7 separate regions of the Homo sapiens genome follow, and all the other regions are linked to region 1. The links are contacts of gene promoters, found by promoter capture Hi-C in blood cells and fetal thymus (Javierre and others, 2016). All regions are on one chromosome and are shown on one strand. The core of a region is centred on a gene start or on the middle of the fragment in contact, and the rest is flanking DNA. Distances in the headings are between cores, read along the strand shown. Region 1 holds the start of CAPSL (calcyphosine like). Region 2 overlaps DNAJC21 (DnaJ heat shock protein family (Hsp40) member C21). Region 3 has its middle 40 kb from the start of DNAJC21. Region 4 overlaps AGXT2 (alanine--glyoxylate aminotransferase 2). Region 5 has its middle 5.9 kb from the start of AGXT2. Region 6 overlaps PRLR (prolactin receptor). Region 7 overlaps PRLR (prolactin receptor).

The links. Contacts are between HindIII fragments. The CHiCAGO score rates a contact against its expected background, and 5 or more counts as called.
Region 2: a contact is called between a fragment that was not itself captured here and the fragment with the promoter of CAPSL in region 1, in 1 of 17 cell types (naive CD4 T cells). The highest score is 6.5, in naive CD4 T cells.
Region 3: a contact is called between a fragment that was not itself captured here and the fragment with the promoter of CAPSL in region 1, in 2 of 17 cell types (naive CD8 T cells and naive CD4 T cells). The highest score is 6.6, in naive CD8 T cells.
Region 4: a fragment that was not itself captured here is called in contact with the fragment with the promoter of CAPSL in region 1 in 1 of 17 cell types (monocytes); the score reaches 6.4 in monocytes.
Region 5: a fragment that was not itself captured here is called in contact with the fragment with the promoter of CAPSL in region 1 in 5 of 17 cell types (naive CD8 T cells, M0 macrophages, naive CD4 T cells and 2 more); the score reaches 6.7 in naive CD8 T cells.
Region 6: a contact is called between a fragment that was not itself captured here and the fragment with the promoter of CAPSL in region 1, in 14 of 17 cell types (total CD8 T cells, naive CD8 T cells, naive CD4 T cells and 11 more). The highest score is 18.9, in total CD8 T cells.
Region 7: a fragment that was not itself captured here is called in contact with the fragment with the promoter of CAPSL in region 1 in 5 of 17 cell types (total CD8 T cells, naive CD8 T cells, naive CD4 T cells and 2 more); the score reaches 8.1 in total CD8 T cells.

What each region holds. Positions count from the first base shown.
Region 1 is chr5:35,936,893-35,940,403 of GRCh38, reverse strand. CAPSL (calcyphosine like) reads left to right here and starts at 1,782. Exons shown (of 5, transcript NM_001042625.2): 1 at 1,782-1,863. It overlaps CAPSL-DT (CAPSL divergent transcript), which reads right to left and starts at 1,603. Exons shown (of 2, transcript NR_104630.1): 1 at 1,480-1,603; 2 at 411-681. The HindIII fragment of the contact is 5,426 bases long and covers 1,413-3,511 here.
Region 2 is chr5:34,948,065-34,951,575 of GRCh38, reverse strand. It overlaps DNAJC21 (DnaJ heat shock protein family (Hsp40) member C21), which reads right to left. Exons shown (of 12, transcript NM_001012339.3): 10 at 1,234-1,406. Among named protein-coding and RNA genes, the nearest start is that of DNAJC21, 20 kb to the right of the region's middle. The HindIII fragment of the contact is 2,318 bases long and covers 363-2,680 here.
Region 3 is chr5:34,968,228-34,971,738 of GRCh38, reverse strand. No RefSeq gene overlaps it. Among named protein-coding and RNA genes, the nearest start is that of DNAJC21, 40 kb to the right of the region's middle. The HindIII fragment of the contact is 425 bases long and covers 1,787-2,211 here.
Region 4 is chr5:35,030,516-35,034,026 of GRCh38, reverse strand. It overlaps AGXT2 (alanine--glyoxylate aminotransferase 2), which reads left to right. Exons shown (of 14, transcript NM_031900.4): 6 at 474-567; 7 at 1,202-1,295. Among named protein-coding and RNA genes, the nearest start is that of AGXT2, 16 kb to the left of the region's middle. The HindIII fragment of the contact is 2,677 bases long and covers 337-3,013 here.
Region 5 is chr5:35,052,126-35,055,636 of GRCh38, reverse strand. It overlaps a transcript of PRLR not described here. Among named protein-coding and RNA genes, the nearest start is that of AGXT2, 5.9 kb to the right of the region's middle. The HindIII fragment of the contact is 4,296 bases long and covers 1-3,511 here.
Region 6 is chr5:35,099,067-35,102,577 of GRCh38, reverse strand. All of the region lies in intron 2 of PRLR (prolactin receptor), which reads left to right. Among named protein-coding and RNA genes, the nearest start is that of AGXT2, 53 kb to the right of the region's middle. The HindIII fragment of the contact is 346 bases long and covers 1,822-2,167 here.
Region 7 is chr5:35,115,453-35,118,963 of GRCh38, reverse strand. It overlaps PRLR (prolactin receptor), which reads left to right. Exons shown (of 10, transcript NM_000949.7): 2 at 842-903. Among named protein-coding and RNA genes, the nearest start is that of AGXT2, 69 kb to the right of the region's middle. RefSeq lists an enhancer at 323-1,522. The HindIII fragment of the contact is 961 bases long and covers 1,140-2,100 here.

The DNA.
Region 1 (3,511 bases), core at 533-3,032:
ATCATTTATGTGGAGCTTGAACTTGGAATTTCAAGCCCTGAGTTCATCATTTTTCTTTACTTTGTCTACCACAGTTACAAGCAGTCATCCTCATTACATTTATTAGTTTGACTAAAATATTTTAAGCTATCATGATTACCTAGAGATTTGCCATTTATGAATATTTGATTAGGAATCCAGTAGTAATATTTTACAAATCTTTTTACCGTATTACACCATAGACTATCATTGTCTTCTTTACCACTGGAAAGAGTACTTATGCCTTAAAATATAATCAATATTTTATATTGATTGTCAGAAACCCAATACCACAAACCCAGATCCAGTTTTTTGAACTGGTAAAACCCTTGGAATTACACCAGTTGCTAGCAGTGGAAACAAGCAAAAGCATTGCTTAAGTACTCCAGAGATTTTGTTCTTTTTACTTTATTTGACACAACCTGGAGGCAGACTATTGAGGGCTTGCACGGTGGCTCCATCATGCTGTCCGTTGTCCCAATTTTCCTGTTTCTTTTTTATCTTTTCTTAAATTATTGCACCAAACTTACTCTCCAGTAGGTGGCTTTCAAGAAATACTTCATATTTAAATGCCCATGCCCTCATATTTGCTTCTGCATTCACAGATGAAATTAAGTTTCTTCTTAAAAGTTTCAAATGCGTGATATCTTGTGGGTTAAACCACTGAAAAGAAAACATTAGACATCTGAGGTTGCCCTGGAAGAACCACAGTTCTAATTGCTTAATTCTGGGACAATTCTTCAGACAATTCAGATAAAAGGATGAAATAGCTACTATGTATACTCCCTGCAGATATAGCAAAGGACCCAAGCCCTTGTCAAATCCATGAAAGAACTTGCCTAGTAGTCTGCAGAGCTGGGTGCCTGGCATCTATTCCGTTTTGTGAGTTCTTATACTGCAAGGATGTTGCACACAGCCAGGATTATGTTATATACAGAGATGTGTGTGTGTGTGTGTGTGTGTGTGTGTGTGTGTGTGTGTGTGTGTGTCAGAGAGAGAGAGAGAAAGAGAGAGGTGTAAGGTCTGAATCACCACTAATTATACCTGCCTGCTCCTGAAAGCAGGACGTGCAGGAGTGGGAATGACAAGGATAGGGTGGATGTCATAGATACACAATGAAAGAGAGCATAGTGTAGATATTTTCCTCCAAATAAGCCACTAGATTTCTTCTTATCTGGCAAAGTAACTGCTAGGGAACATGTGAAAAACATAAGTAAAAAGAAACAAAAAGAGAAAAGAAGAGAAGAAACCAAGGATGAAAACAGCAGAAATGACATCCTCTGCAAATGCAGAGAAGGAGGGAGAACCTTGAATCACCTATAATTACCCCTGCCTGCTCCCAAGAGTTGTGGTTTTAAGTATCACCTGGCAATGAGGCACCCTAGCAGTAAGCTTTCTGGGGACTACAGAAGGACAGGAAGGTGCTGCCTAAAAGAAAGAAGACAATGTGCTGAATACTACCTTACAAAACATGGGAGACAAGTTTTGATGCTGTTCTAGAAACCAAACCATTGCCAGCAAAACTTCTGGCTGGCTTCTCTCCCAGTGCAAATGGCTTGAGCTTTCACAGTCACTGAGATTTCCTAGGCAACAGGAGTGTAAACTTGAGAAAAGGCAGAACCAGAGTAGAGATTGACAGTGAGCTGAGCCAATCAGGCTGTGAATCTGCAGCAGTGATCCCAGGTCCTCCAATTAATACTAAGAGAGTGGACCAGGGCCCCTGAGGAAGACAGGTAAGAGGGAGGAGGCTAAGGTGGCTTGGGAGGGACCAGTTTTCCTAGATGCAGGAGACAGCGTCCATAGTTTCAGTTCGAAGCAACTGGTGGCAAAAGGTTAGCATTTAAGGTAAATCAATGTTTTTATCTATTCTATGATTTAATGTTTTTTTTTTTCTTGGTATGTCTTAGCTGAGAAAAGAAGACAGTAGATGTTACTCTCTAAAAAGAAAATCTAAAAGTCTTTTGAGAGTTCTTGGACTAGAGAAGCCATCACTAGGCTGTCAGTGCAAGAGGAAAGAGCTTGGTACTGGGAAAGATTTTTGTAATCTTTGCAAAAAAAATGCTTAGATAAAAATGCACAAAAATAAATTTCATTCAGTAAAGGGGAAGGAAGTAAACATTACTGAGCAGTCATTAGGTACTAGGTATTTGAGTGTGAAGGGTTTGGGTGAATTGCTCTAACGATCCTGATGACCACTGATAAAACTGAGCTTCAGGGAGGTTCAGCATTTCCAAGTCACAAAGCAATAAAACATTTCAACTTTCATTCAGACCTTGCTTTGTCTGATACTTAAACTTATGCTATTTCTGCTATACACTGACAACTGAGAATCAGAATAAAAATCAGGATGCTTATTAAAGTGTACATACATGGCTTGTTCAAAATTATATCAAATAGTTGATTTGATTCATCAGAGACTTGAGGGGGTCCTTTACGTTCTCATTAAAGGACAACACCAATGACCCAGGCAGCCATCTCTATTGCCTTCAGTCTGGGGAGTATTTAAACCATATTAAGTAGATGAAATTCTTACCTGTTTTTTTTTTTTGACTTATTTTTTCCTCAAATCCTACAACCACAAAAATCTATTTTGTTATTGAAAGTTTTAAATATTGAGATTTGAATTTCAGGCATACATTTGTATTTATATTCTGATAAAAATTACCCAATAGCAATGACAATGATAAATTCTAATAGCAATAAAATAGCCTCCTGCTAAGCCCTGATGATATGGTGATAGTAAATGCAAAGGATACAGCTCTACCTCGTAAGGACCTTATAGTCTGTCTAGCAGGGCAAGTAATTCGAAAACGAATTACATTGTCTTGCAATGTGAATGCTATTTGGACTTCACCACATGATCATGGAAGGATGGGTGGGACTTCTCTGGGCCAACAGGAAAAAGAAGGTGTACCTGCAAGTGTGACTACATGTACAAAGGCACAGAGATACAGAATGCTATGGTGTGTTTGGGGAATGTGAGTGAGTAGAGATGCAGGATAGATTTTGAACGGATGGAGAATTACTAGAAATGGCTGGAGACATAGGAAAGGCCAATGCATGAATTCAATGCTAAGAACTTTCATTTTACCTGTATGCAATGGGGGACCATCAAAGGGTCTTAAACTATATCATGAAGTTCATGTTTTCATTTTCTAAAGATTGCTCAGTCTTTTGAAAGACAAAGTACAGAGGGCAAAGCTAGGGGCAGGAAACCAACTAGGAGACATTTGCAATGGTGGAAATGAGAAGTGACCATGTCCTAGGCTGAGTCAGTATCCATGGCAATGGAGATGAGGGAATGGAAATGCGGGATGTGTCAAGGTAGTGAAACTCTATAGGACTTAGCTGCTATTTGGATGTAAAGGGTTAGGAAGAGTCTAGGATAATGGTCAGTTAATGACCCAGGTAAATGGTATTGCTGTTTCCTGAAGCAAAGAGTAAGGAAGATAGGTAATGAATTTGGCTCTGGAACATTAAACTGAAAGTGTCT
Region 2 (3,511 bases), core at 272-2,771, 990 kb after region 1:
AGCCTGGGCAACAGAGCGAGACTCCATCTCCAAAAAAAAAAAAAAAAGAAGTAACATGGAAAACATTTTAGTTTTAGATGAAAAAGGGGTTCAGGGGCCCAGAGCCCCACCTCCTGGCCCACTCTTTGTGCCCATCCCACAGGACACACAGGCTCCATGGAGTCAGATGATCTGGGTGCCTTCAAGTTGTCAGGCAGATGGAATGAAGTGTCAGCCTTTCTACTCAATAGCTTTTGTCCTTGGACAATTAACCTGAAATTCAGTTTCCCCATTTGTAGAAAGGGAACAAACACCTGGTGTCAGAGTGAAATACATGTGAATTTCCCTTTCTAGGCTTCAACTCTCCAAAGTTCTTCAAAGCTTCAACATTACCAGTTTGTGTAGTTCTTTATATACCTTTTTCTATAGCCAGAGTCATACTGTAGGTCTCACCCACATCTGTTTCCTCCTTCCTACTACTAAGTGCCTTAAACTCCGAAGTACACACACTCCCCACCCCATCACTGTTGCTCCAGTGTTAGCATTTTCACGTCATGCTCCCACTTTGCTCTCTCACTTTAATTCTTTTCAGGGTTCTGTAATGACAGAAACTTGAAGCTCCTCACTATCAGATCTTTCCTCAAGAAATAAGAAATGATTCTCTGTTCTAGAGGAACCGAGGAGGATGGGGAAAAGAAAGTCAGACAAGAGGAGGAAGGAGAGAACAGGACTGGCTACCTCCCTTGGGTGAGACCTCCTCCTAGTCCACACCATGGCCTTGTGCAGCACCAAGAGTCCAGGGCTCCTCTGAGCAGGAAGGGCCCCAGCTGCTGCCATGTGTCCTCACAACATGGTGGGGCCCAACACAGGCTGCTGTCGTGAGCATGGAGATTTGCTTAGTGACACTCCAGGGACGCAGCAGGAGTCTTGTTCTCATGTGAGTGTCAAGTGTTAATGATCCACGACAAAATCAGCGCCACAGCAGGATAAGGTAAACAAGAACTGGATCAAAGTGACATCTTTCTGATTTTGGCCATGCTGCTGAGATGTGTGTGGGCACATTCCTCTAGCATCCTCTTCTCAACGCTCTTCATCTGTATACATATGTGTGTGTGTATCTATACATAAATATGTACAGATACATCTAAATTACCTGGTCAGTCATGGGAAAGAAGATTTTATTTGATATATGAAAAGCTACATCCTTACTATCAATATTCAGTAATTTACAAATAATATGCAACTTTGACTTACCTTTTAGCTTCACTTTTTGGATCATCACATGGTTTAATGATCTCTGTGACACTGACATTTTCCTGGGGACTATCTTCCAATTCTTTGGCACTGTCTTGATTTAAGTTAGTATCTTCTGGATCAACCTTTACTCCTTCTCCAGGTCCATTTACATTGAAATTGTCATCATAATTCTAGGTAATAAAACATATGTGCCGTTACAAAATAAATATAATACTACTACTAGCTTTTTATGTTATGTTGCCAAATAGTTATATACCTTCGGGAAATAAAAAGGAGAAGCAGGTAAGTTAAGAACATGGATGCTCATTACAGTGATAGTAAATTAAGGGAAATCTGAAAAGAATCCAAATGTTCAAAAAGTGAATGGCTGAATATATGAAGAAAAATTCTGAAGTGCTTAAGTATCATGTTTCCAAAGATACTCAATTATGTGAAAAAATACTTACAACATATTAGCAAAAGTAGAAGAAAGAAAATTATACATAGTGTAATCACAATTTAATTCTTTATTAAGTAATCTCTACAGGTAAAATTAAGGATGATACTTTTCCATATTCCAAATGATAAGCAATGAGCAACTATTCTTCTACAGTCACAAACAATGGCAACAACAAACAGGCATTATAAAAGAAAGACGCCTGGCAAACATATCCTAAGCGTACCTGTCTGTTTTCAAGCAACATTTTGGCACATTTGTGCTCGCTCTCTCCATCTCTTCTCTCTCCCAACACACACTTTTTTCCCCAAGCCATCTGAAAGTGAGCTGCAGGCAGATATGAATCTTTGCCAGGTACATCCTAAGAATCAAAACATTCTCTGGCACAATACTCACACTCAAGAATCTAATGCTAATATTATCTGTTACACAACCCACATTCAAATTTACCAATTACTCCTTTTCCTGTATAGGGATATACAGGATAGGGGGTGTAATCAAGGATCACATGTTGCATTTAGTTGTCAGGTACCTTTAATCTCCTTTATTCTAGAGCAGCTCCCCCACTTTTTTTTTGTCTTTCATGATGTTGACAATTTGATGTTTTGTAGAGTGTCCCATAATCTGGCTTTGTTTGGTTGTTTCCAAATGATCAGATTCAGGTTAAACATTTCTAGCATAATACTATAATCCCGGGAAGCAAAATGAGTTTGTCATTTTTCAGTGATATTATTAAGTTTGATCATTTGGTTAGGGTGGTATTGCCAGATTTTTCAACTGTAAAGTATGTTTTCCCTTTTTAAATTAATAAGTAATCTGCAGAGTGTGACTCTGAGACTGTGTGAATATCCTGTCCCCATGACCATTTACCGAATATACTTGGCATCTATTAATGATTCTTGCCTGAAACATTTATATACTGGTGGATGTAGAAGAGTGATTTTCTCCCTCTATTACTTGTGTCATTTGCACTTGTACTAATTAATATTTTTCTGTAATAATAAAGCTTTCCTATCTCCTTTCTCCAACTTTTTTTTTTTTGAGACAGTCTTGCTCTGTTGCCCAGGCTGGAGTGCAGTGGCGTGATCTCAGCTCACTGCAACCTCAGCCTCCCAGGTTCCAACGATTCTCCTGCCTCAGGCTCCTGAGTAGCTGGAATTACAGGCGCATGGCACCACGCCCGGCTAATTTTTGTATTTTTAGTAGAGATGGGGTTTCACTATGTTGGCCAAGCTGATCTTGAACTCCTGACTTTGTGATCCACCCGCCTTGGCCTCCCAAAGTTCTGGGATTACAGGCGTGAGCCACCGCACCTGGCCAGCTCTCACTATTTTAAAAGTCAATATAGATACATAAATTTCTTTTTAACAAATGCAATGTATGAAGATCTATTACCCTTATTCCTTTTGATGACTCAAGTTTTCCCTAACTGGCAGGCCCCGCAAGCTGGATCTTGAGTACTTCTAACGTATCCCCATCAGTTTTTGAGCACTTCCTTAGTTTCTAGTATAAGATGCTCTAGGCTCACGTTCCACTTTCCTAGTCTCAGCCCTGAAATCAGGTATTTCTCCAAAGAGCAAGCCTGTTTCCTTTTCATGGAAAAGTGAACTTAAAAACCAAAACGTGTGCATTAGGTGTACTCACTGCTAGGGGTGTCACTGCTTCTAGGTCCTCACAATGCACACTGCTCACACACTTACTTTCTTTAAATCATGGGCTCATACCAACATCTCCACTTCAATCCAACTCTACAGTATTCTTCTTCTCTTTTCCTCAATTTATATTTGTATTTCCCTCTTCCCACAAAAAGAATATGGTTCCCAGCTACAATTTATTCAT
Region 3 (3,511 bases), core at 750-3,249, 970 kb after region 1:
TAGGTGGGAATTGAACAATGAGAACACTGGGACATAGGAAGGGGAACATCACACACTGGGGCCTGTCGTGGGGTGGGGGGAGGGGGGAGGGAAAGCAGTAGGAGATATAACTAATGTAAATGATGAGTTAATGGGTGCATCACACCAACATGACACATGTATACATATGTAACAAACCTGCACGTTGTGCACATGTACCCTAGAACTTAAAGTACAATAAAAAAAAAAATTGCCAGTGGTGACGAAAGAGCATTAAGTCAAACTCAAGGGCTGGCCCTTCTGAGCACAGGCCCTGGGTGACCGTCTGCATGGGTCGCATGCCCATGAAGTTGGTCCTGTCTGCAGAGCTGGCTCAGGGAGGTGATCTGGCCTCTTGGTGAGAAACAAAAACCTAAGGGTGGGAATGCTCAGATTCTACATTCAACATCCCCTGTTCTGCAGAATTCACTTGATTCATTTGTTACCAAGGATACCACCTAATCTCCTGCCTAAAAATTCAGGAACTTTCCTCTAGTGATTCTCTTTTTACTTTGTAGCCTTGAAAGGGTTTATCTACAAAGCCTCTCCTTGTCTCCTGGAGTCCCCCTCATTTCTCTTGGCCACCATAATAAAACAGCCCTTTTACTGAAGCTAAGATAAGGTCCTAGTTCTTTATCCTGGGAGATCCAGGTTAGGGCAGGTAAGAAAGGAAGCAAAGGAGGGAGACTAATCTCTCTTAGATGGTGTTGTTTACCCTAATGGTTCCCTTCCCAGCGTCCACTCTCCTGCTTCCTCCTTCCTAAGATAACGAGATTTTGCTCAGGTTTCTTGCTAAGAGATCTGGGATTTGGCTCAGTGTTCCCCAAGTGACTCAGGAAAAGCTAACTCCATCCCCAACTCCAGGGTAGGTTCCTGGATACTCTAAGCCAATTATAGCAATGCCATCCCACTTGTGGGAAGTCAGTCCTCCTGGGGCATTCCCATGGCTACAGGTTTCAAAGGCCCTGTGACTCAAGTTGGCCCTTTCAGACTGAAAGGAGGGACTTTTCATGATGGGTGAAGAGGGTTTTTCCTCTCTCTCTCCTTCCCTCCCTCTCTCTCTCTTTTTCTGAGCCCCCCACTCCAAAGCCCCCTCCTGACAGTGTGAGAGGACAATATTCTGTCCCAGTTGATATTGGCATCCATTTTTTGACCATGAGGGAAGGCTGCCTGAGGACAAAGATAGCACAGGAGATAGGGAAGACAAATATATTAGCAGACAAATGGAACTGGAGCCCCCATGGATTGTTTCCAGAGCCTGCACAATTTCTTTTAACTGTTTTGGGAGATAATATACTTCCTTATTAACTAAGTTCATTAGAAATTTTGTTTCTTGCATCAAAAACATACTATTTGACACAGATGCAGATAGAATTCTCTGTCTCAGGTTGACTTACTCACATACACTTCATGAATATTCATTAAGCATCCTTATACACATATTAGGTCCTATAGTAGATACAAGGATTCAATATGCTGCTGTCCTCAGAAGCTTACAGTCTAGTACAGAAGTCGTGACTTACACATATGAAACATTTCCTGACAATGGGAAGCAATGTATGCTTTTTGAAAGTTTGTTTTGAAATTTACAACACATGTTGTCTACCCCTTCTACTCCTGTTCCTGAGATGCAACTATTCATGAGTAGAGTTTATCCTTCTAAAAGCTTCAATGTCTTCTTCCTGAGGCAACATATGGTAAGAATTAAGTGATAAAGGAGTTCAGGGGAGGAAAAACTTACTCAGGCTGAGGAGATATTAGGAAAGCTTCATGGAAAAGAAGTCATGTAAACACTATTGCCCTAAAGCTCAGGTAGCAGGGTCCCTGACCGGGCTTTGTAGGGATAAAGAGCATGCCACCCCAAAATGTGCCATTTTGGCATATCTATTACTTTGAGTTAAAGGCACTTAAGAAACAGCAGGTGCAAGAATGGCATTCTGATCTTCCTTTTTCTTCCTCAAAGCAAGAGATAAAACTCTCATGTGAAAGGTACCCTCCCTGACCAGGAGGAAGGAAGACACTCTTATTCTCAGAGATGGGGTGTCAAAGCTGAGAGAGAAACGGGTACCAAAAAACCTTATTAAACTAACCCTTATCTGCCTAGCCACTTTTCCACAATTAAGTGTTCTACCCCAAACCTCTTTGTCATGTTTTCAAACTTTACTATTCTTTGTCCAGCCTGTTAGGTAAGCTTTCAGCCCTAATTGCTCCTTTGAGTTTCGTTTTTCTTGTGAGGGCTCCCATGTACAAGTAAAAATTACTAAATAAAGTATGTATGCTTTTCTGTTATTCATCTATCTTATGTCAATTTAATTCTCAAGCCTAGCCAGAGAGCCTAAGAGGAAAGGGAAATTTTGCCTCCTCCAGAGCCCCCACTTAGCCTTCCTTTTGCCATGTCCCTTCCTAGGGAACAAGGAATCCACAAAGCCCTGTGGTTTAGACCATAATCCAGATACCCAGAACCCCAGAATTGCCTGCCCACATGACTCAAAGCCCACTTGCAGGGCCTACATGGGTCTTCCAGGTAATTTCCCATTTAAGGTCAACTGTGCCATATAACGTAACAATTAGAGGGGTGATATTTTAATCATATTTTTGAGTTCCAGGACAAGAACTCTCAGGTGAGGGGAATTTTTAAATTTTGCCTACCACAATAATAAAATTCTAGAAATAACCAATATGTGAAGCTGGTATGAAATTCCAAAAGCACAAAAGGTGATATAGCAAAAGAGTCTCCAGCCCTTATCTCTTCTCTCCATCACCCAGTTTACCTCACCATGGATAGTCACTGTTAGTGGTCCTTCGACCACCATATTACACAAATACATCCTGCTTTTTTTTACCTTAATACTATATCTTGCAAATCATTTTGTAGCTGTATCATAACTTATTAGCTATCCATGGGTATTTAGGTTATTTAGAATATTTTTCTTTTACAAAAAAAGTGCTGTGATTAAAACCCTTTTAGAGCCAGTCTCCATGCATGCCACTGGGGGACCTGGAGATCAATCTGCCTTGCTTGCCACCCACCAGCGCCCATGCACACCTTCCAGGGGCCTACAGACCAGCTCCTCCTGCTCACTGCCACCACCTGTACCTACTGTCTGGAGGCCTGAGGATAGTCCTACCCTACCCACCGCCACCAGCACATGCATGCACTATCCAGGATGGACCCACCCCAACTGCCACCAGTACCTCCATGTGCTGGACACTAGCCCACCAAGGCCACCACTGCCACTGCTGGCATGTGCATGCACTGTATGAGGGTCCAAGGGTTGTCCTCCAGCAATACTGTAACCACTTAATGGATTTACCTTGCCTGCTGCCTAGACAGAGCCAATTTATCAAGACAGAGGGATTGCAATAGACAAAGAGTTATTCATGCCGAGCTGGCTGTACAAGAGTCCAGAGTTTTTTTTACTATATTATTCACATCAGTCTGCCTGAGCATTCAGGGATCAGAGTTTTTTTTGTTTTGTTTTGTTTTTTTGTT
Region 4 (3,511 bases), core at 426-2,925, 910 kb after region 1:
CGTTCAAAAGAAACAAAACCTGTGTTTCTTAGATGGAGAATAAGGTGATTTATAAGGTGTGTAAGTCCCTAAAGATATTGAACAACAGGTATATCATAGGAAAAAATATTTGGCTTCCCAAAGCGACTACTTCGAAGACTGGTATTCATTGAACATACAATTTCTGGTATGTTGTTGCTAAAAGATGAGTCTCATTACTATGGAATAATAGAGTAGGGAAGGTCCTAAGATTGGAGTTCTTGGACAAATGTTCTCCAAAATTCCTTTCACAGTTTCAAATCTGTTTTCTAACAACAGTTAGAAAAGACTATTAAGTACATTGATCCGACATAAGCTTAGATGCGTTCTTAGAAATCAGAGGTGAATGCGAATGATGTTCTATTTCATCTTCATAGCCTTCCTGGGTTTTCTCTTTTGTCCTACTCAGTGGACCAGGAACTTGACCCCATCCTCCTGTTGTTTCTTCTCTGCAGAGGAGCCTACCATGGATGCAGTCCTTACACACTTGGCTTGACAAACGTAGGGACCTACAAGATGGAACTCCCTGGTGGGACAGGTTGCCAACCAGTGAGTTTGGAGATTTTTCTCTTGTTTCTTTAAAGACTGCTGGGTATGTGAAGTAGTTGATCAGGTTTTCCTGGTATAAGGATTAGAAACTAATATAAAGCCTGTCATTAATCAGGGGCTCAATTTGACCTAATTGAATTGGAGACCACTTGAGGACACCATTAGAAAGGCCTTCCGAGTCTGAGTAATAATTAATGACAGAGTTTTAAAATGTATTTTGCTTTTAAATAAAATCAAGTAAACTGCAAGGCTCTGAGAATCTTGAATGCACAAAACTTCTATGCAGTCATCACTGTACTCACCTTCTGTTCCCACTTACTGTACCCACATTTTCAGCATCTGAATCAGATACCTAATTATTCTTATTCTTTCAGATGCCCTTACCCACTGCACCCTTGAGCAAGCTGTTTCCAGGCTAACATTGAAATCAGTTTCCTTTGTAGAGGGCCCACATAGCTGATTTCTAAGAAAAAATTATCTCTTCAAAGCAGATCCTTCAATTTTCATCTTAAGTGGGGGAAGAATGAGGGAGGAAAACTAAGAAGCCCTCTTGTCTTGATGGCAGCCATATGCTACCCTAACTTGGCTGTCTTGTGTTCATGCTTTGCCACACTCCTTCTTTTGTCATTTGCAGACAATGTGTCCAGATGTTTTTCGTGGCCCTTGGGGAGGAAGCCACTGTCGAGATTCTCCAGTGCAAACAATCAGGAAGTGCAGCTGTGCACCAGGTCCGACTGGGCAAGGGGGGTGCCAGTGGAGTGTTGGAAGTTGGAAGGGACACGAATAAAGGCAGACCCATCCCTGAGGGAACAATTGAATTTGAAAACATGGAAAAGGGAAAAGCCAGAGGAAGCAAAACTGGAAAGTAACCAAGTTATTCCTCATTGAATCAACGCTTATGTCTGCTATCACTTCACTCTCAGACCATCTGTCTGGCCATGTAGGAAAAGCATCTCACGCTATCAGAGCCAAGCTCAAAAAAACGACTATCAGCTGGTACTTGATTCAAGGCATTCTATTAGCTCTATTATAATAGCAATAGCTCTGGTGTCAATTTTAAAAGACAACAAGCTGGGCGTGGTGGCATGCCTGTAGTCCCAGTTACTCGGGAGGCTGAGGTGGGAGGATTGCTTGAGCTGAGGAAGTCGAGGCTGCAGTGATTCATGATTATGCCACTGCACTCCAGCCTGCATGAAAGAGCAAGGCCCGGCGGGGCATGGTGGCTGACAGCTATAATCCCAGCACTTTGGGAGGTTGAGGCGGGCAGATCACCTGAGGTCGGGAGTTTGAGACCAGCTGGCCAACATGGTGAAATGGTGTCTCTATTAAAAATACAAAAATTAGCTAGGCATGGTAGTGTGCACCTATAATCCCAGCTACTCGGGAGGCTGAGGCTCAAGAATCACTTGAACCTGGGAGGCAGAGGTTGCAGTGAACTGAGATAACGCCACTGCACTCCAACCTGGGCAACAGAACAAGACTCCATCTCAAAAAAAAAAAAAAAAAAAAAAAAAAAGCAAGATCCCATCTCTAAAATGAAAAAACTAAACAACAACCAAAAAAAAAAAAAAAACAAGAAATCAAGATGGGTGGGATTATTAACCCATACCAGTGGAAAGAGGGAAAATAATGCTTTTGGCAATCTCAAAACTCCAGTCAAAAAGTTCTCCAGGGACTGCCAGCCAAAATGAGAGCATCCGTCAAACAAAACACAAGGCTGCCCTTCCTACAGGCTGCTGACAACCCTGGCAAAAGTTTTAAAGGCTTTCTCACAAGGAGAACTTCCATTTACCAATCACATTTTTATTCGCATTCTTTACCTACGCTTAACAGGAGGGAGAGGAGGCAGGAAACATCATCTGTTCCTTGCTAATCAACAAGCCCTGCCTCTGATTTGTCATCACAACCTTTTTAATAGCCGCTCCTTAGTACTTCTGAAGGAAATAACTAAATGCTTCAGCCCAGTGATTTTTAATGGAATAGTATGAATCACTGGGTTGAGAGGAAAAATACAAAACAGAAGTCTTAAAAACCAGCTCTGAAAGGAAAAAAATTCACCATCGTCTTAAAATTCAGATGACATAATAGCAAAATGGAGGTAAGAGAATGAAAGAGTAAGTAGTGAAAGAAGACAAGATGTCACGCTCATGGAATTTAAAACCAGAAGGAAATGTAAAGCTATAAATCAAACTCTCCACTTTAAACATCAGGAAAGCCAGTTTCACATGGAGGAGACTGGAGAGCTAAGATTTTACCCCAGGTCTTCTGACTCCAAAGCCAGTGCTCCCAATTCCTATAGCCATCCTCATCCACACTGATGTGCCGTCAAGATAAACCCAAGCTGAAAAAGCATTCCTATTCCACAGGCCAGGACTGAGGAGCTGCATGAAGTCAAGAGATGGATTCCACTCTCAGCCCTGGCATGGTTCAGCTATGAGCAAAAGCTTCACCTTTTGCTTCAGTTTTCTCATTTGTAAAACAGAGACAGCAATATCTGGCTGCTGCCAACACCATCACGGCACTTCATGAGATGAGGCACGGAGAACTTTTGTAGAGAAAAACAGACCATAGCAATGCCTGGTAAAGCCGTATTTGAATATTGCATCTGTAAGGCATCAAGAACTAAAATCAGTTTGATGCACCTCCCAGACCCTGGTCTGACTGCAAAACCACCAGCACAGAGCCTAGTAGACGGAAGCACTAAAAGGTGGTCATTTCCTTCTTTTCCTGCTATATGTTCCTCTTTCCACATAGAAGAGACACAAGCCTACTATAAGGCCTTCTATAGGACTACTTAAGCCAATTTGACAATACCAGAAATCCATGGTCATCTCTCTAGTGGCATCTAGAGGCTAAATGATAGTGACAGGCGTACATTTCTGCTCTGAACTGTTGCCTTTGGCATATCTGAAGTCAGTTGTTTTCTTTTTTATTTATGTATTTT
Region 5 (3,511 bases), core at 670-3,169, 880 kb after region 1:
CAAGTTTTTTTTCTTTGCCACAACAAAATTTATTAGAATAGATTTTTTTAAAGAAGGAGGGGGAACTGCATTTTAACTCCGGAAATAAAGTATGCAGACATATGCGAAAACATTTATCTTAGGACACTCACCCATGGCATTTTTTTCAGGCAGAAATTTTTGTGCTCATCTTTGAACACCTCTGAGTTTATTTTCCTACTAATTCTAAATCAAAACTGAACACACATTTCCCCAGTCTTTATTCATCTGCCAGACTCGAGCCTTAAAAATGCAAGCATGCTTGGAAGCACCCAGAAGTTTCTTGGAACTTCTCCTGGGAACAACAAAGAACAATCAAAAGGAGAGTTTCCAAACCTGAGATTCGATCAACTTTCCCATGTTTCCAAACCTGAGATATGATCAACTTTCATTTAACAAGCCACAAATCTCAGGACCAAAGTTTCACATTTTCTTTTGTTCGTGTTTTCCTGACTGGAATTATTCAGTCTTTACTTAAAACCAGCTGTGAGTTCATCATCCATTTGTGATCTTTTATTTATTGCATAAAATATTTCACAAATACTTGAACATATATAGAAAAACATAACAAAGGCTCATTTACCCACATCCAAATCTTTAAATATTCATATTTTGCCTTGTCTGTTCCTTTCTTTAACAAAGATTCATTTAATATCACAGATGCTGTATTTACATCCCTCAACAACCAAATTCTCTACCTCTCTCTTCAGCAGTAACTACAATCCTAAAGTTATTACATATCCTTCCCAGCTATTTTTAAAATGCATTCACCTCATATTTATCTATCCCTAAATAATATGACCAATTACTTTGGTATTTATGAGTTTTGCATAAAAAATAGCAGATATCTTTATGCACTTTGATTTTCTTTCATTCGGCATTGGGTTTTTGAGATACAAATAGCTCCAGCTGCTTAGTTTTATACATCTATACAATCTATTAAACTCCCTATTCATCAACATTTAATTTTCACTGCTTTATGCATACAACTGCTGTGGTTGTATACACATATACAGTTTATTAATCTCCCTATTTATCTACATCTAATTTTCACTGCTTTATGCATATAGCTGCTGTAATTGTACATATACATATAATTTATTAATCTCCCTATTTATCAGCATTTAATTTTCATTGCCATAAATGACAAAAGTTGTGTGTATACCACTGCTATAATTTTACACATATATACTATTTATTAATCCCCCTATTTAGCAACATTTGATTTTCACTGCCATAAATGACTATGCAATGAGCATTCCTATGCCAGTCTCACTGGAATATGTGCAAAAGTTTCTCCAAAATATACACCTAGAGGTGGAATTGTTGGGTCATGTAAAATGCATATCTTAATATTTCCTAGATGCTGACAAATTGCTTCCTCTCCAAAGCAGTTTTACTGATGTGTACCCTTGCCATCAGTGTAGTATTTCCATTTCTCGTCATCTTTATCACTACCTGATGCAGTCAGATATTTTAATGTTTGACAATTCAATGAGCATAAAATGATGCATTGTTATTTTACTTTTTATTTCCCTGATGAATCCATTTGTATCTGAGTAACTCATCCTTTTCCTGCTTATCTTTTATGCCATCTTTGTCATCTTCTGAGTGTCTACATATGCCCAAATGTTAGTCCAGGCTTTTCTGGCCCATTTTTCTGTGTATCTATTCCTGTCCTGGTGCTCCACTGTTTTATTACCATATTTTATACAAAGTCTTGTTATCTGGTATATTAATTCTCACACCACCATACCCTTCTTCAAAATTGTTGTGGCCATTCTTGGCCATTTACTCATCATATGAATTTTCAGATGAGCCTATCGGGTCTCCTAAAAAATTGTGTTGGGAGCTAGATTGAATTTATGTTTTAATGCCAGAAGTTACATCTTTATAATATTGTGCCTCCTAATCTTGAACATGGTATATCATTTCCTTTACATTGGGCTTCAATAAAACTTTACATTATTCTTTATAAATGTTTGCATATGTTTTATTAGATTCATCCCTAGGTACCCTCTCATTACAACCTCCACCTCCCGTGTTTAAGTGATTCTCCTGCCTCAGCCTCCCGAGTAGCTAGGATTACAGGCCCACACCACCACACCCAGCTAATTTTGGCATTTTTAGTAGAGACGAGGTTTTGCCATGTTGTGCAGGTTGGTCTCAAATTCCTGACCTCAGGTGATCCGCCGGCCTCGGCCTCCCAAAGTGCTGAGATTACAGGCGTGAGCCACCATGCCCAGTCCCACTGATGTTTTAATACTGATCTTGCATTCTGTAACCTTACTGAACTCTAATTAACATTCTTATAATTTGTAGGTTTTCTTGGATTTTCAATTTTTACAACGGTATCACCACAAGCTAACAACACTGTTTCTTCTTTTCCAGTCTTTATACCTCTTATGTCTCTTTCTTGATCTATTTTATTGGGCTTCCAGGACAGTGTTAAATAGAAACGTGTTATGGGCATCCTTTCTTCTTCCTGACTTTAGTGAGAATGCTATGAAAAGTTCACTATTACATATAAGGCATCATGTAGGTGTTGTAGAGGGGAAAGGAAAGCTGCCATTTTGCCCTCCGAGGGTTCACTAAAAGTCACTGACAAAAGTTGAATTAATAGGAGAAAAGGCATACAAATTTATTTGATTATAGTTTTATGTGACATGGGAGCCTTCAGAATGAAGACCCAAAGATACAGAGGAAACTGTCCATTTTTATGCTTAGTTTCAACAAAGTACGGACAGCCTTGTAGGAAAATGATTGGACCTAATGCCGACAGACTGAGTGAGAAAACCTAGCAAGGCCTGTCTGTCTAGATTTTTCTTAGCCTCTCTGTGTAGGAATGCCTCTCACCATTCCTTCCTTCTGGGTATGGGGCAGGACCCTCTCTGGAAAGGGGGTCTTATGACCTACAGTCAAACAAGATAGGTCAGGTTATCTACAGTCAGTTTTTACACAGAAAGTCTGGTGTAAAGTTATAGTAATATTTTTAGACTGTAAAGCTGACTTTGGGGCAAGAGGGTTCCAGTTTCCATGACCTGCCTTGGGGAAGTGAGATTCCAGTTTCTATGGCCAGGCTCTGGAGAGAATGAGGGACCAGACAGGAGGGCAGCAGGTCAAAGAGAACTGCTGCTGGGCCCCTACAATTTTTCAGATACCCTTAGTTATGTGAAAGATATGCCTTTATATTTCTAGTTTGCTAACAATTTTTTATCTTAACTGATTTTAAAACTTCTCAAATTTTTTTCTACATCTATTGATATGTTCACATGGCTTTTCTCTGTTAATTAATGTGTAACTTATTACAGAAAATTATTTTAGAGAGTATATTTTAAGGTTAAAGTACCCTTGCATTCTTGAGATGAACCTCACTTATACATGAAGTATTTTTGCAAACATTATTAGGTTCAATTTGCTAAACTTTTATTTAGGATTTTTGCATTAATGAGGTTCATCTTTTTTGCTGCTTAAGATATCGTTTTTGGAGGTG
Region 6 (3,511 bases), core at 745-3,244, 840 kb after region 1:
GAGCAAGACTCCGTCAAAGAAAGAAAAGAAAAGAGAGGAGAGGAGAGGAGAGGAGAGGAGAGGAGAGGAGAGGAGAGGAGTGGAGAGGAGACGGGACGGGACGGGACGGGATGGGACAGGAAAGGAAAGAAAAGCAAAGAAAAGAAAAGGAAAAAGAAAGAGAAAAAGACACTAAAAAGGAAAGGAGAGAGGAGAGATGGGCAAAAGGATGGAGCGAGGGAAGGAGGCTATAAAAAGAAGACTCAGAATCTTAAAATGCTCAAGTCCTAGGCATTTGATTTTGGCAACAAGCCTTGATCTCTAGGAGCAGCTGAGCACATCCTATATCCACCATATCACACCATAATTTTTATGTTCATAAATGACCCCAGTACTCCATAAAAAGTTTCAATTAGGAAATCAGAGAAGCGCCTCATTTTTAGAAGTGTGCACCCAATAGATTAAAAGTTTGGCCGGGCGTGGTGGCTCACGTCTGTAATCACGGCACTTTGGGAGGCCGAGGCGGGTAGATCACGAGGTCAAGAGATGGAGACCACCCCGGCCAACAGGGTGAAACCCTGTCTCTACTAAAAAAACAAAAAAATTAGCTGGGCATGGTGGCACGCACCTGTAATCCCAGCTACTCCAGAGATTGAGGCAGGAGAATCATTTGAACCTGGGAGGCAAAGGTTACAGAAAGCCGAGATTGCGCCACTGTACTCCAGCCTGGGTGACAGAGCAAGAGTCCATCTCAAAAATATATATATATATAATATATAAAACATATATATGTTATTTATAAGTTATATATATGTTTTATAAGGTATATTTATGTTTTATATGTATATATGTTATATATATGTTTTATATATGTTTTATATTTATATATGTATGTTTTTATATATATATGTGTTTTCATTCCTGAAAGGGTGTGCTTTAGATATTTAGACATGATGATGCCAGAAAAATATGTTTTAATTGTGTGCATTTATGAAGGAAAAGGAAGAATGGGCTGAGAATTATTATTGCCTTGCTAGTTGAAGATTTCACAATGGAGGTTGTCCCAGTTCTTGAAGTCTCCACATTTCCTTGATTTCTGATATTGCGATTTTTATTCACTTCAGCTACTAACCCAACCACCTTGCAGCCACATCTCAGTGGGCTTCATCATCCATCTGCCCTTGAGTTCAAATTAATGCACACAAAGAGGTTACTGGAGGAATCAAGAAGGTCTCAGAACCTATCCCTTAGGAATATGGAGAGCCTGTTGATTAATGGAAAAGAGTTGCACAACTCAAGGCCAAGTGCTGTTTCCGTGGATCTGTACATGAGAATACTGCATTCTATATGACTTTATAAAAATAGTCACCCAACAGGTGTTGTTGAACACCTGTAGACATGTTTACAGGTGACAGTGTAGGGGGCTGAATATGTAGATGAAGCCAAACTGAGATTGTTCTGGAACTTTGATGATGGTATTCCAGACGGGACAATGGCAGTGGGTCAGGCGTTGGAGGCTTCCGTCTTAATCACTGCTCTTCTACTTGGTTAAATGTAGTAGTTACCATCTGCAGTAGGCTGTACTGGTTGTCTCTGGATTGTCCCTAGATTTGCCCAACTAAATAAAGCTAGCCATTATAACACCCAGCCTCTTAGCTCAGAGCACAACAGCCAAAGGTTTATTTCTCACCCATGTGACAGTTTGCTGGTGGTCAGCATGAACTCAAGAGCCTTTCATCTGTTGGCTGTACTGAGCTTTTAGGACCTCACAGTCCTCAATTTCATCTTCTTCAGGCCAGTAATGGAGGAGAGAGAAATAGAGGGGGGAATATGTAAAAAGCTTTAAAGACCAGGACTAGGCTAGAAGTACAGTCATGCATCGCTTGACAATGGGGATACTTTTTGAGAAATGCATCCTTAGGTTATCTTGTTGTTGCTTGAACATCATAAAGTGTACTTACACAAACCTAGATGGGATAATCTGCTGCACACCTAGGCTATATGGGATAGCCTATTGCTCCTAGGTTACAATCGTATACAACATTTTACTTTACCGAATACTACATGCAATTGTAACACAATGGTAAGTATTTGTGTATCTAAACATAGGAAAGGTATAGTAAAAACACAGTATAAAAGATTTTTTAAAATGGTACACCTGTAAAGGGTACTTACCATGAATAAAGCTTGCAGGACTGGGAGTTGCTTTGGGTGAGTCAGTGAATGAGTGGCGACTGAATGTGAAGCCCTGGGTCATTACTGTACACTACTGTGGACTTTATATACACTGTACACTTAAGCTACACCAAATTTTTTTTAAATTTTTTTCTTCAGTAATAAATTAACCTTAGCTTGCTGTAACTTAACTTTATAAACTTTCTTAAACTCATTTTGACTTTTTTTTTTTTTTTTTTTGAGACAGAGTCTCGCCCTGTCGCCCAGGCTGCAGTGCAATGGCTCGCTGCAAATCTCGGCTCACTGCAAACTCCGCCTCCCAGGTTCAAATGATTCTCCTGCCCCAGCCTCCCAAGTAGCTGGGATTACAGATGCCAGCCACCAGGCCCAGCTAATTTTTTTTGTAGTTTTAGTAGAGACGGGGTTTCACCATGTTGGCCAGGCTAGTCTCAAACTCCTGACCTCATGATCTGCCCGCTTCAGCCTCCCAAAGTGCCGGGATTACAGGCGTGAACCACCGTGCCTGGCCTTGACTATTTTGTAATAATACTTGGCTTAAAACACAAACACATTGTTCAGCTGTACAGAAACATTTTCCTTCTTTATATGCTTATACTATAAACTTTTTTCTATTTTTAAAAGTTTTTTTGTTTTACTTTTTAAACTTTTTCATTAAAAACTAAGACACAAACATTCACATTAGCCTAGAACTACATAGTGTCTGGATCGTCCCTATTGCTGTCTTTCACCTCCACATCTTGTCCCACTTGAAGTTCCTCAAGGATGATAGCATGCACGGAGCTGTCAGCTCATGACAACAATGCCTTCTGGAATACCTCCTGAAGGATCTGCCTGAGGCTATTTTACAGTTAACTTTTTTTAATAAGTAGAAGGAGTACACTGTAAAATAACAATAAAAAGTATAGTATAGTAAATACACAAACCAGTAACATAGTTATTATCAAGTATATATACTGCACATAATTGTATGCGCTCTACTTTTATACGACTAGCAGTGCAGTAGATTTGTTTACACCAGTGTCACCACAAACACGGCGTAAAGCATTACGTTACGATGTTAGAATGGCCCTGACATCACTAGGCAATAGGAACTTTTCAGCCCCATTGTCATCTTATAGGACCACCACCATATATGCAGTCTACAGTGGGCAAAGTTTGTCATTCAGTGCGTTACTGTGTGTTATTTCTACCCACTTTCAGAGGCCACCACTTCATCACCTGACCTCATCTAACGACAGGGGAAGCAATGAAGTAACTTTAACTGTGTGGCCAGAAAGGAAAAGAAAACCAAATTCTGATGGACATCTGATGTTTTTACTATTCCTATGAATGTATT
Region 7 (3,511 bases), core at 371-2,870, 820 kb after region 1:
ACTTCGCCAGGTGTAATGACATGTGCCTGTAGTCCCAGCTACTTGGGGCAGGGGGCGGGTGAAATGGGAGAATCACCTGAGCCTGGGGAGGTTGAAGTTGCAGTGAGCTGTGATTGCGCCGTTGCACTCCAGCCTGGGAGACACAGTAAGACCCTGTCAAAAAAAAAAAAGATCCATACCTCTAACAGTTGTCCCTTCATGCCTCCGAGACTCAGGCTAGTCAGTCCCCAGAGTCTGAAAGTTCTTATACAAAACCCAGAATTCCAGTTCATCTATAACTATGTCAGAATTTGTTAAGAAATTTCATTAAAGTCTCCAGGACCAAATTTTATGAAATCTAATCCCAACTAGGATAACTGGCAAAATTTGAGTAAGCTCTATAGATTAGGTAATAATACTGTGTCGATGTTAATTTTCCTACGTTAATTATTGTACTACATTTATGTAGGAGAATTGTCCTTGTTCTTAGGAAAACACACTGAAATATTTAGGGGTAAACATGCATCATGACTGTGACTAGTTCACAAATAATTAGGAAGTAACTTTTATATACAGAGAAGAAAGATTATAAATCAGATGTGGTAAAATAGTAACAATTGAGGTATGTGGGTCGAGGGTATATGAGATTTTTTTTTTTTTTTTACTATTTTATAACTTTTCTGTAAGATTAAAATTACTTCAAAATAAAGCTGCCAAAAAACAAATTCCAGAACACTAGAGCTGTCTCATGCCTATCACTGAGGGGCCAATGTTCAGCCATGCTACGTACTGCAGAGTGAGCCAGAAATGGAATCTCCCGTTTTGTCATCTTGGAGCTAAAATGAATCATTTCCTCTTTCAGCTAAAGAACTCTCCTATTCATGGAGGCGAACACTGAGGATGCTTTCCACATGAACCCTGAAGGTAAGGGGGACTTGTTCTCATGCCCCTCGGTCACACCACCCATCTGCCCCACTGTCCGTTTCATCCAGGGCAGGGGCTCAACTATCTTGGTTTACAGAATATCATCTCAAACCAGTCAATGTCTACACTGGCACATTCTGCTGTCTTCAAAGGCTGTTTCAGTCTCCCCAGCCTGTCCAGCTCAGAAAAACTGATGTTCATCCTTTTCTGTTTTTCTCAAAGAAAATACCAAAGCTTTTAATAGCTGATATCTCCTAGTGGTGCAATCATGAGAGATTTTTATTTTCTCCTTGTAGTTTTCTGTAATTGAGAGATTATCGACAATGACTATGTTACTTCTATAATCAGAGAGAGAAATATTGTGCTTGCTTTTATTTTCTTAAGCAACTCTACATAAATTCTTGCCACAACTTTCTGGGCCCCGTAATGTTACTGCTGTGTCTCCTTCCTCCCAGCCCTCATGGCAGGACTCATGTGTGACAGGCTCTGGGTCTTCTCTCATCTGCCAGTGGCAAGGAAACCCTAGGCTGCCAGGACTGCTTAGCAAATAGATCATGAAGTATTACGACTCCATTTTACAGATGGAGAAACCAAGCCCCCTGACTTCCCTCTGTCTACACTACAGGCAAATGGGATCTGGACCCACTGAGATGAGCTCGACATGTACGACTTTGAGGCTGTACTCTCTCATTCAGAGGAAGTTAAGGAGCCAGGAAGATAGGAAAACAATGAAGTTATTGGTTGAAGAAAATCCTAGACAAAATTTTCCTGGGACTTCTTGGGGCCATCTAGGGAAACTTACTAGTCTTCCCACATTGAAACATGATAGCCCCTTGAGAGCCATCATGCCGCTTTGGTGTCAAGTTCTGAGCCTGAACTTGCCCTCTGGGCCAGGGTTTCTCAAACAACAGTGTAGGCATTCTGGGTCGGATCGTTTTGGGTGGTGGGGCTCCTCTGTGCATCATTTGATGCTCAGCAGCATTCCTGGTGTCTCCCACTAAATACCAGAAGGACACCACCCCACCCCAGCTCTAACAACCAATGACATCTCCAGACAGTTCCAAGGAGGACAAAACTCCCCCCAACAGAAGTAACAATAAAATAATGTTTCCAGGCTTTGCCAAATGTCTTCCAGGTGGGGACAAAATTATCCTACCAAAAACCACTGCTTTAAGTTGCCTCAGCCCAGCAGAAGCTTTTGTTTTTCATGGAAATCGACTGAAATTTATAGTGTTCACAATAACATTAGCAAATACTTGCAGAAGAAGTGTCATCAGTCATCAAAACGCTCTGGGTACAAGAGTGCCCCACAGCATAATAGCCCTGCCCAGGAGCATCTGGTAACATTGGAAGTGGTGAATCGACCCATTCAGACTTCTCTGTGCTTTCTCCCGTCTTGGCTTCTACCCCTTCATGCCAAATGCCTCATGCTATTTACTGGAAGGAAAGGCAAATGAAGGAGAACAGGGCAATGCTGAGTACTGAGTGGACCTTTCCTTTAAGAGTTTGAAGAGGTCAGAAAGCACCCAGTAGTCAGAGCTGTGTTGCAAAGCTCCCGGAAAATTTGGCCGCTACTTTGTATTTGTGTGTGTATTCATTATTCATAGACATGTATTCATAGACAACATTATTGCTCAAAAGATTTGAGACATATTCTCCACTTCACTTTATATAATTTTAACTTTTTACAGCAAACAGGTCACCACTCTAAAGAGTGGCTTAACCAGAAATCCTTTTTTAAAAAAAATTAACCAAATAGTATAAAGTAGATAAGGTGGCAGTAGCAGATTTATCTGTGGTACCAATTGGCAAACCAAGGCCCTAAAAGGAAATTCCAAAGCCCTAGGGTTTGTACACACACTTCCTATTCATCTTTAAGTGCACCTCATGGACCTTTTATTCCTCTGATTGATCTTCCCTGACCCCTGCACCCAGCCTCCATCATCCTCCACCCTTTCCCAACCTGGTGTTTGGATTACAAAGATACTTCTGATTCCAGTGGCTATCTGTGAAATCACAGGCAGGAACTTGAAAGCAGTTGCATGGTCATCCAAGAGAAACAGAAACACAGCTCAGTTTCAGGGTGAAAAGAACATCCAGAAAGCAATATTCATAGAAGAATTCAGAGGGGGGGACCCTCCTTAAAAGAGGGGATTAAAAGTTAAGAGTAAAATTGCAATTCCTGTCCAAGACTTGACCCAAAGTGCCGCAGTCCATTTTGCAGCCTTTTATATGATGTCTGGTCTCTCTAACTTAATTGTTAACTTTCCAGTCCTGTCCCAGTGGTAATCATCACTCCCTAACAATCACTCCCTCGTGCCCCATACCCACCCAGGGTGGAACAAACTGTCTTTGCCTGGCATACCAGATTCTTTTGCAAGAGCCCTGGCATCCTTCAGGCTCTGCCCATTCCAACCCTCCCACCTCCAGCCCTTTCCCAGGCCCCCATCCGCACACTTCTGCCCTTAACTCTCTCCAGACTGCAAGAAGCCAAGAGGAGATTAGAAGCAGCCCAGGGTCCTCGGGAGGATGTGTCCACCCATAGGCTGTGTTTTGAAGTTCATTTAAAGCTCTATACTTATAATATTTTTCCCCACCACTTACCTGT